Linked DNA regions of Homo sapiens: region 2 is linked to region 1. Evidence: promoter capture Hi-C in 16 types of primary human blood cells and fetal thymus (Javierre and others, 2016). All regions are on one chromosome and are shown on one strand. The core of a region is centred on a gene start or on the middle of the fragment in contact, and the rest is flanking DNA. Distances in the headings are between cores, read along the strand shown. Region 1 holds the start of FAM181B (family with sequence similarity 181 member B). Region 2 overlaps ANKRD42 (ankyrin repeat domain 42).

Region 1 (5,105 bases), core at 2,604-5,103:
TTACAATGGCTTGTTTGCATATTTGTCTTTCCACCCAAAGGGTAGAAATCATGGCTTCTTATCTCTGTATCCCCAGTACTAGCATAGCGCTGAGCACATTGTGGGTGTCAATATCTTTCTGTTGGAAAAAATCAGTGACTGGATGGATATTTATTTGTAAGGATCAATTTTGTGAATCAGGCTATAGAACTTCTAAGCCATGAATTTCAGCTCCATGGTTTACAAAAACTTCAATTTCCATTATCTTATTGATTTTCACAATAGCCCTATCAAATAGGATTATGTTATTATTCCCCATTTATGGATGGGAACATCGAGGTCCTGAAGGTTAAGTGACTTTTCCATAGGCAGTCAGATAATAAAGGCAGGACTGGACTCCAGTGTCAGTCTCCGGCTCCAGTTTTAGCACTCTCTCTCCTGTATTTCATTGTCTTTTTGTAAGTTTCTACAACCCCCAAGTATAGCTACTCTCTTGCATTTGAAAATAGTCACTCACTTTGCTGAGGGAAAGGACAAATGATGCTGGTTTCATAGGGTAATGTGTTGGTAAGGAATGGGTGGGGCCTAAGGAATCAAGAACATGGACATTTGTTGAACTGCTATTTTGTGTGAGGTGCTTTTATATATACCATCTCACAACAACCTTGAGGAGTTGAGATTATCTCCACTGTGCAGGTGAGAAAAGTAAGATTCAGAGGCATTACTTGCCTGTTATGTCATGTAATTCTCACCCTGAGAACAATTATGACCATTCCCTTTTTTCAGATAAGGAGTTTGAGCCTTTGGAATATGAACTGACTTGTCCAAGCAGTTCAATAGCAATAGGCAGGGCCAGAATTTGAACCTGGCCTCATCTAACTTCAAATCAACTTTGATGTGCAGAACTCCAATAGAAATGAAGAAAGACTTTTACATATGAAGCTTTTCATATTCCATTTATTTTGAATATGATTTTAGGATTTAGATAACCCTGGGGATTAAGAGTTTTTTCGGAATAAGATGTCGATTAAATGTAGAGTACTGTGCAATTGGTGTCCAAGGACTTGTAAGAGTGCTCAGTTGACAGAAGGTGAAAAAAAAAAAAAGTTAGTGCTTTTGGCTGCCAGACCTGGAAGCCTATGGAATGGCCCTGTTGGAAAGGGGATGGGCAGTGCTGACATCCACATCTGGAGTGGAAGAAGCACAAATCAGTGACAGGTCTGCACAATTTTCTGAATGTGAATACCACCAAGAGTAAAACAGACAGTTCGGCCATGGAGGACAAAATGCTGTGTGTAACTCAAATGAAAAGTCCATGATAATTGAGCCAATTTGAATTTAAAATAAAAAGTTTGGCTCAGCTATGTGGGTTTGGGAAGTGGCTACTTCATCTTCTAAATGAAAAATGTTCATCTGGCCTTTTTTCTTTCTTTCTTTTTTATTATACTTTAAGTTCTAGGGTACATGTGCACAATGTGCAGGTTTGTTACGTATGTATACATGTGCCATGTTGGTGTGCTGCACCCATTAACTTGTCATTTACATTAGGTATATCTCCTGACGCTATCCCTCCCCCATCCCCCCACCCCACGACAGGCCCCGGTGTGTGATGTTCCCCACCCTGTGTCCAAGTGTTCTCATTGTTCATTTCCCACCTGTGCAGTGTTTGGTTTTCTGTCCTTGCGATAGTTTGCTCAGAATGATGGTTTCCAGCTTCATCCATGTCCCTACAAAAGACATGAAGTCATCCTTTTTTATGGCTGCATAGTATTCTATGGTGTATATGTGCCACATTTTCTTAATCCAGTGTATCACTGATAGACATTTGGGTTGGTCCCAAGTCTTTGCTATGTGAATAATAGTCTTTGCTATGTGCCACAATAAACATACGTGTGCACGTGTCTTTATAGCAGCAAGATTTATAATACTTTGGGTATATACCCAGTAATGGGATGGCTGGTTCAAATGGTATTTCTAGTTCTAGATCCTTGAGGAATCGCCACACTGTCTTCCACAATGGTTGAACTAGTTTACAGTCCCACCAACAGTATAAAAGTGTTCCTATTTCTCCACATGCTCTCCAGCACCTGTTGTTTCCTGACTTTTTAATGATCGTCATTCTAACTGGTGTGAGATGGTATCTCATTGCGGTTTTGATTTGTATTTCTCTGATGGCCCATCTGGCCTTTTTTCTTTGGTAAGGCTGTGCCTTCATGGTGTTCAAAAATGGTTTCGCTACATCTACAAAGTGAGGCTTAATAAAAAGAGTTTTGAAAGAGATGGTCTATGTCTCTCCTATGCAAGCTCTGTATCGAAACTAGAGTAACTTATTTAGAGAACACTTTATCACACACACAGTGTTTTCATATAGAGACAGTCCCCAACTTATGATGGTTCAACTTTATGATTTTCCAACTTGAATCAGTGTATTACATGCATTTTAACCTACAATATTTTCAACTTACAATGTGTTTATCAGGATGTTGTTGCTCTATCACAAATTGAGAAGCATCTATGATCTCACTTAATGCTCATGAACACCCTATGATCCAGAAGACACGTAAGGGATATAGTCACCTTTTTGTGTTTCAGAGAAGTAAGGGTGAATACTCATCCAGGCTATGGAACAATGTATCATTTAAATATCACAAGTGCCCTGTGGGGAGGGCAACTTTACCTGCATTTAACATGAGTAAGCTAAACAGAGAGAGTACGCTGGTTTGTCTAAAGCCATGCACTCAGCAGAGCAAGGATTTCAACCTAAGTCATGAGGTTATTGAGTGGTGGCTAAGACCAGAACCCAAGCCTCTTCTGAATCTCTTGTGAAAATGACCTTATTGCTCATTTTCTCTATCTATCCCAAAGAGGATTGCCCAGGTGAAATTAGTTTTAAGTGAACTTCATGATGATCCCTGAAATGCAATGAAAATTCCAGGGATAACCTAAATGGTATGACAGGTAGGGGAGAGGTTCCAATCCATCTTTTATTCTAACATGCTGAGAGTTTTATACACACACAGTGTTCTCAAGTAACAGGGGGCTTAGCCAGATCGACTCCTTTCTCCATTGCCTCCTGCTATGTGTTAATAAAAGATGGGCCACTGCTGGCCTCAATTTACTGTTAGCCAATTGTTACTCGTAACAATCAAGTGGCAAACAGTCAAGAAGAAAGAGCACTGGGCTTGAGAATCCTGGGAAAACTCAGGTTAGAATCTTAGGATCAGGTCTAGAGCTTTAAGAAATACTCATTTTCCTTCCCCATCTTAATAGATGAGAAAGGCAAGGGCAAGAGAGGACGCAAGTATTGTCAAGGGCTTAGGAATGGCTTTGGAGTCAGAATGGGCTAGATCTGACTTTGGCCAACTCACTGAACCTCCCTGAGGTGCAGTGTCCACGTTTGTTGAATGGCGATAACATGTAATTCACAGGGCTGTTGTTCAAGGATTAAATGAGATAATAGATGGACAGCGCCTGGCAGAAGCAAGCGCCCAGAAGCTGGTGGGTGTTGTTATACAGCTGGACTGAAACCCACGTCTCTAGACTCCTGCCTTCTTGCCTCAGGAGAGGCACCACCGCAAGTACCTGCAGAAGCCTATCAAGCGCTGCAGCGGCCTCATGGGCCTGAACTGGAGTTTGAGACCAGCCATCTCTTCCTCACCCCTTGCGGTTAGAGGAGTCAAGAGAAACACCACGGGGCAAAGGGAAACGAAGGAGTTAAGGCGTTGAGCTTCAGAAAGCTCAGAAAACTAAAGCGACCCCCCACTCCTCCAAGCCAGGCTAAGTAAGCCCCTCCCCTCTACCACCGGGACGGTCGCCGCGCGCTCCCTCCCTCCGCCCCTTGCTTACAAGACCTAATGAGCTCCCCCGGGAGGCAGCGCAGCGAGCCAGGCCCGGAACTAGTAGGCTGCGCCGCGCGCGCCGCGCCGGGGCGGGAGCTGGGTCTGGGCGGCGGGCAGGAGCTGGCGGGGGCGCACGGGCAGCGCTGCGGACAGCCCGGGAGCCGCGGCGATGGCGGTGCAGGCGGCGCTCCTCAGCACGCACCCTTTCGTGCCCTTCGGCTTCGGGGGCTCCCCGGACGGGCTAGGGGGCGCCTTCGGAGCCCTGGACAAGGGCTGCTGTTTCGAGGACGATGAGACCGGGGCTCCGGCGGGTGCGCTGCTGTCGGGAGCCGAAGGAGGGGACGTGCGCGAGGCCACCCGCGATCTACTCAGCTTCATTGACTCGGCGTCCAGCAACATCAAGCTGGCGCTGGACAAGCCGGGCAAGTCGAAGCGGAAGGTGAACCACCGCAAGTACCTGCAGAAGCAGATCAAGCGCTGCAGCGGCCTCATGGGCGCCGCGCCCCCCGGCCCGCCCTCCCCGAGCGCCGCCGACACGCCAGCCAAACGGCCGCTGGCCGCCCCTAGCGCCCCGACAGTCGCGGCCCCGGCCCACGGCAAGGCTGCCCCCCGGCGGGAGGCGTCGCAGGCCGCCGCGGCCGCCAGCTTGCAAAGCCGAAGTCTGGCCGCGCTCTTCGACTCGCTGCGCCACGTCCCCGGGGGTGCCGAGCCGGCGGGGGGTGAGGTGGCTGCGCCGGCGGCCGGGCTAGGAGGTGCGGGCACTGGGGGCGCGGGAGGGGACGTGGCAGGCCCCGCGGGGGCCACGGCGATCCCAGGGGCCAGGAAGGTCCCGCTGCGGGCACGCAATCTGCCTCCGTCCTTCTTCACGGAGCCGTCCCGGGCAGGCGGCGGCGGGTGTGGCCCGTCGGGGCCGGACGTGAGCTTGGGCGACCTGGAGAAGGGCGCGGAGGCCGTGGAGTTCTTTGAGCTGCTGGGGCCCGACTACGGCGCCGGCACGGAGGCGGCAGTCTTGCTTGCCGCCGAGCCTCTCGACGTGTTCCCCGCCGGAGCCTCCGTACTGCGGGGACCCCCGGAGCTGGAGCCCGGCCTCTTTGAGCCGCCGCCGGCAGTGGTGGGAAACCTACTGTACCCCGAGCCCTGGAGCGTCCCGGGCTGCTCCCCGACCAAAAAGAGCCCCCTGACTGCCCCCCGCGGCGGCTTGACCTTGAACGAGCCCTTGAGCCCCCTGTACCCCGCCGCTGCGGATTCTCCCGGCGGGGAGGACGGGCGGGGCCATTTGGCCTCTTT
Region 2 (5,217 bases), core at 735-3,234, 470 kb before region 1:
GAGCTTTTGCATCAGAGCAAACATTGTTATTCTAGTGATTCTAAAAAATAAATGGTTTATTTAAAAAAAATGAGAGAAGTCAAATGTATCTTTAAGATTTTTAAAAATTAATCTAAATCTCAATATAATACAGTACTTAAAGGTCTGTACCACATACGGTGTTACTGTCTTTATATGTTCAAGTTTGTATATGCTACCACCTCTTCCTTTTTAAAAGAATTGATCATATCATTGGGATACACTGTCATAGAAGTCATAATCATATTATTTGTTTAAAAGGCTTATCAAGTAAATATCATTTTCCTGCAGCAGAGACTAATGACAATAAAATATTAAAAAACCTCAATCTCAATAATAATCATAGTAAGTCATTCATTTATTCAACAATATTTATGAAAAGACTATTATGTGCATTGTTCAGGTACTAGAGAATAAAGCCACTGTCGACATTCATGTACTGGTTTTACATTTGTCTTGGGTGAATATGTAGAAGTGAGATTGCTAGAACATAAAATAAGTATATATTTAACTTTATTTTAAAAACTGCCAAACTGTTTTCTAACGTGGCTGTACCTCTCTACATTCCCACCAGCAATGTATGGGAGTTCCAGTTTCTCGATATCCTTATAAACACTTTGTATTGCCATTTTTTTGGTTTTTTGTTTTTTCTGCTATTCTTACAGGTATCTCATTGTGGTCTTAATTTGCATTTGCCTAATGGCTAATGATGTTGAACATCTTTTCATATGTTTAATTGCCATCCATATGTACTCTTTGAGAAAGTGTCAACTGAAGTCTTTTGCCCATTAAAATTTTTTTTCTTACTGCTGAGTTCTGAGAGTTCCTTATATAATCTGGTTACAAGTTCTTAGGTACGTGATTTGCAAAGGTTTTCTTCTCTATTTTCTCTGTAAGTTTTATAAGTTTTACATTTATCTACAATCTGTTTTGAGTAAATTTTTGCATATGGTACCAAGTATGGCTCAAGCTTCATTTTCTTTTTTTTTTAATTTTAGATTCAGAGGGTACATGTGCCAAGTTCGTTCGTTTCATGGATATGCTGCATGATGCTGAGGCATTTGGGCTTCTATTGAACCCATCTCCCAAATAGTGACCAGGTTACCAAACAGGTAGTTTTTCAACCCTTGCCTCCTTCCCTATCTACTTTTGGAATCCCCAGTGTCTATTGTTCCCATCTCTTTGTCCATGTGTACCCAATATTTAGGTCCCACATATAAGTGAAAATATGTGGTTTTTCGTTTTCTGTTTCTGTGTTAATTCACTTAGGATAAAAGGTTCATTTTCTTACATATGAATATGTGTAATTGTGCCAACATCATTTAATGAAAATATATCTGCTCTCCACTGAATTACATTTGCATCTTTGTTAAAAATCAATTGACCGGCTGGGTGCAGTGGTTCATGTCTGTAATCTCAGCATTTTGGGAGGCTGTGGCAGGTGGATCATTTAAAGTCAGGAATTCAAGACTATCCTGGTCAACATGGTGAAACCCTGTCTCTACTAAAAATACAAAAATTAGACAGGCGTGGTGGCGGGCACCTGCAGTACCAGCCACTCAAGAGGCTGAGGCAGGAGAATCACTTGAACCCAGGAGGCAGAGGTTGCAGTGAGCCGAGATCATGCCACTGTACTCCAGCCTGGACAACAGAACCAGACTCTGTCTTGAAAAGAGAAAAGAGAGAAGAGAGAAGAGAACCGAACCAGATGGAAATTCTGGAGTTGAACAGTATATCTGAAATGAAAAGTTTACTAGGAGCTCAATAGCAGATTTCATCTGAAAAAAACTGAAGTCCAATAAAGCATGGTTTTTTACCAATTATTAATTTAGTGATTATTTCTTGCAACCAATATATAAATATCAAAAATCTTAAGAAAATTCAGAAAGGTTAAAAAACTGTAAAGGTGTTAACGTAGTGCTCAAGTAAAGATTTAGGGCCAGACGCGGTGGTTCATGCCTGTAATCCTAGCATTTTGGGAGACCAAGGCAGGTGGATCACAAGGTCAGGAGTTTGAGACGAGCCTGGCCAACATAATGAAACTCCGTCTCTACTAAAAATACAAAAATTAGCTGGGTGTGGTGGCACATGCCTGTAGTCCCAGCTATTCGGGAGGCTGAGGCAGGAGAATCATTTGAACCCAGGAGGCAGGGGTTGCAGTCAACCAAGACGGTGCCATTGCACTCCAGCCTGGGCGACAGAGCAAGACTCCCTCTCAAAAAAAAAAAAAAAAAGAAAGAAAAAAAGGAAAACTTAGGAGATGACCTTTAAGTAGGAATAGAGAAAAGCACTAAAATCTTTTGGTTTCTGTTTATGCTTGTTAAAATCCAACAAACAGGCTGGGGCATGGTGGCTCACACCTGTAATCCCTATTGGGAGGCCAAGACAAGTGGATCACTTGAGGTCAGGAGTTAGAGACCAGCCTGGCCCACGTGGTGAAACCCCATCTCTACCAAAAATACAAAAAATTAGACAGGTATGGTGGCACATGCACCTGTAGTCCCAGCTACATAAGAGGCTGAGGTGGGAGAGCTGCTTGAACCTGGGAGGCAGAGGTTGCAGTGAACTGAGATCACACCACTGCACTCCAGCCTGGGAAACAAGAGCGATACCCTGTCTGAAAAAAAAAAAAAAAAAAAATCCAACCAACATTTATTGAACATCTGCTAGGCACTGTGCTAGACACTAAAAATATAAACGTAAATTTAATTCAACAAATTCAGCAACATGAGAAACATTTCTTGTGAACTTATGATGTGACTCCTATAATATGCCAGATATTACACTAGGTATTGTGGAAAAAAAGATGAATGAGACTCAAATGGTATCTTCAAAGAGCTCAAAATCTAATAGAGAATAAAATTTAAAGTTATACACTTTTTAAAATTTATAAGATTTAGAGGTAGCACTAAGGAGTCAGTAACTAGTTGGGAGATATTGAGGGGGAAAACAGAAAGCTTTACCAAGTGGGTACTGACTGACCTGGATTTCAACCAGGTAACCAGTGGGAAGAGATGAGACAGGCAGATGAAACAGCATGTGCATACTGCCCAAAGTAATTTATAGATTCAATGCTATTCCCATCAAGCTACCATTGACTTTCTTCACAGAATTAGAAAGAACTACTTTAAATTTCATATGGAACCAAAAAAGAGCCCGTAGAGCTAAGGCAATCCTAAGCAAAAAGAACAAAGCTGGAGGCATCATGCTACCTGACTTCAAACTATACTACAAGGCTACAGTAACCAAAACAGCATGGTACTGGTGCCAAAACAGATAAATAGACCAATGGAACAGAACAAGAGTGCTCAGAAATAACACCACACATCTACAACCACCTGATCTTCAACAAATCTGACTTTTGCAACAGGGGAAGGATTTCCTGTTTAATAAATGGTGCTGGGAAAATTGGCTAGCCATATGCAGAAAACTGAAACTGGATCCCTTTCTTAAGCCTTATATAAAAATTAATTCAAGATGGATTAAAGACTTAAAAGTAACACCTAAACCCATAAAAGCCCTAGAAGAAAAACTAGGCAATACCATTCTGGACATAGCCATGGGCAAAGACTTCATGACTAAAACACCAAAAGCAATTGCAACAAAAGCCAACATTGACAAATAGGATTTAATTAAACTAAAGAGCTTCTGCACAACAAAAGAAACTATCATCAGAGTGAACAGGCAACCTACAGAATGGGAAAAAATTTGTGCAATCTATCCATCTGACAAAGGGCTAACATCTAGAATCTACAAGAAACTTAAATTTATAAGAAAAAAACAACCCCATCAAAAAGTGGGCAAAGGATATGAACAGATACTTCTCAAAAGAAGACATTTATGCAGCCAACAAACATATGAAAAAAAGCTCATCACTGGTCATTAGAGAAACGCAAGTCAAAACTACAATGAGATACCATCTCACACCAGTTAGAATGACAATCATTAAAAAGTCAGGGAACAACAGATGCTGGAGAGGATGTGGAGAAATAGGAACTCTTTTACACTGTTGGTGGGAATGTAAATTAGTTTAACCATTGTGGAAGACAGTGTAGCAATTCCTCAAGGATCTAGAACCAGAAATACCATTTGACCCAGCAATCCTGGTCATATATTACTGGGTATATGCCCAAAGGATTATAAATCATTCTACTATAAAGACATGCACATGTATGTTTACTGCAGCGCTATTCACAATAGCAAAGACTTGGAACCAACCCAAATGCCCATCAATGATAGGCTAAAGAAAATGTGGCACATATACACCATGGAATACCATGCAGCCATAAAAAAAGAATGAGTTCACGTCCTTTGCGGGGCCATGGATGAAGCTGGAAACCACCATTCTTAGCAAACTAACACAGGAACAGAAAACCAAACACCACATGTTCTCACTCATAAGTGGAAGTTGAACAATAAGAACACATGGACACAGCGAGGGGAACATCACACACTGGGGCCTGTCGGGGGGTGGAGGGTTAGGGGAGGCGGAGCATTAGGACAAATACCTAATGCATGCAGGGCTTAAAACCTAGAAGACTGGTTGTTGGGTGCAGCAAACCACCATGGCATATGTATACCTATGTAACAAAACTGCAGGTTCTGCCCATGTATCCTAGAACTTAAAGTATTAAAAAAAAAGAAAAGAAAAGAAACAGCATGTGCAAAGCCTATGATAATATGGAACAGTAGACTAATTTGGGAAATGATGGTAGTCACCAGTACTATAGCATAAAACAATTATGATGGGAGATGAGGTTAGAGAAATAAGTCTACCATGTTAAATGGCTTGAACTTTATCCTATGGAGGGCAGAGAGTTACTACAGGGTTTTAAGGAAGGTCTCAAGTAATATTAGATTTTAGTTTTACAGAGAAAATAGCTTTGTATATAGTATATGGACTACAGGTGGACCACACACACAAAAAAATAAAATTAATTAAATCTAAGAACATGGTTATGGGGATGGAGAGGACAAATTCAGGAGACAAAGATGGAGCAGAATCAACTGACCTAGTGACTAGTTCTCACTGCATCAATGTGTAACACGAACTGCACCTTCATCTAGACAAATGCTGATAATGTGTTTTGATTATATGAAATACTGAAACAACTCAATGATGATTCAAAGGCTATTGCCCTAGAAAACTACAAAATGGAGGGAAAAATATAACAGTTTTAGTGTTAGACTAGTTGAATT

The links. Contacts are between HindIII fragments. The CHiCAGO score rates a contact against its expected background, and 5 or more counts as called.
Region 2: a contact is called between a fragment that was not itself captured here and the fragment with the promoter of FAM181B in region 1, in 1 of 17 cell types (naive CD4 T cells). The highest score is 5.6, in naive CD4 T cells.

The regions. Positions count from the first base shown.
Region 1 is chr11:82,732,612-82,737,716 of GRCh38, reverse strand. FAM181B (family with sequence similarity 181 member B) reads left to right here and starts at 3,853. Exons shown (of 1, transcript NM_175885.4): 1 at 3,853-5,105. The coding sequence starts at 3,988. The HindIII fragment of the contact is 9,040 bases long and covers 924-5,105 here.
Region 2 is chr11:83,200,430-83,205,646 of GRCh38, reverse strand. All of the region lies in intron 2 of ANKRD42 (ankyrin repeat domain 42), which reads right to left. Among named protein-coding and RNA genes, the nearest start is that of ANKRD42, 9.3 kb to the right of the region's middle. The HindIII fragment of the contact is 1,987 bases long and covers 991-2,977 here.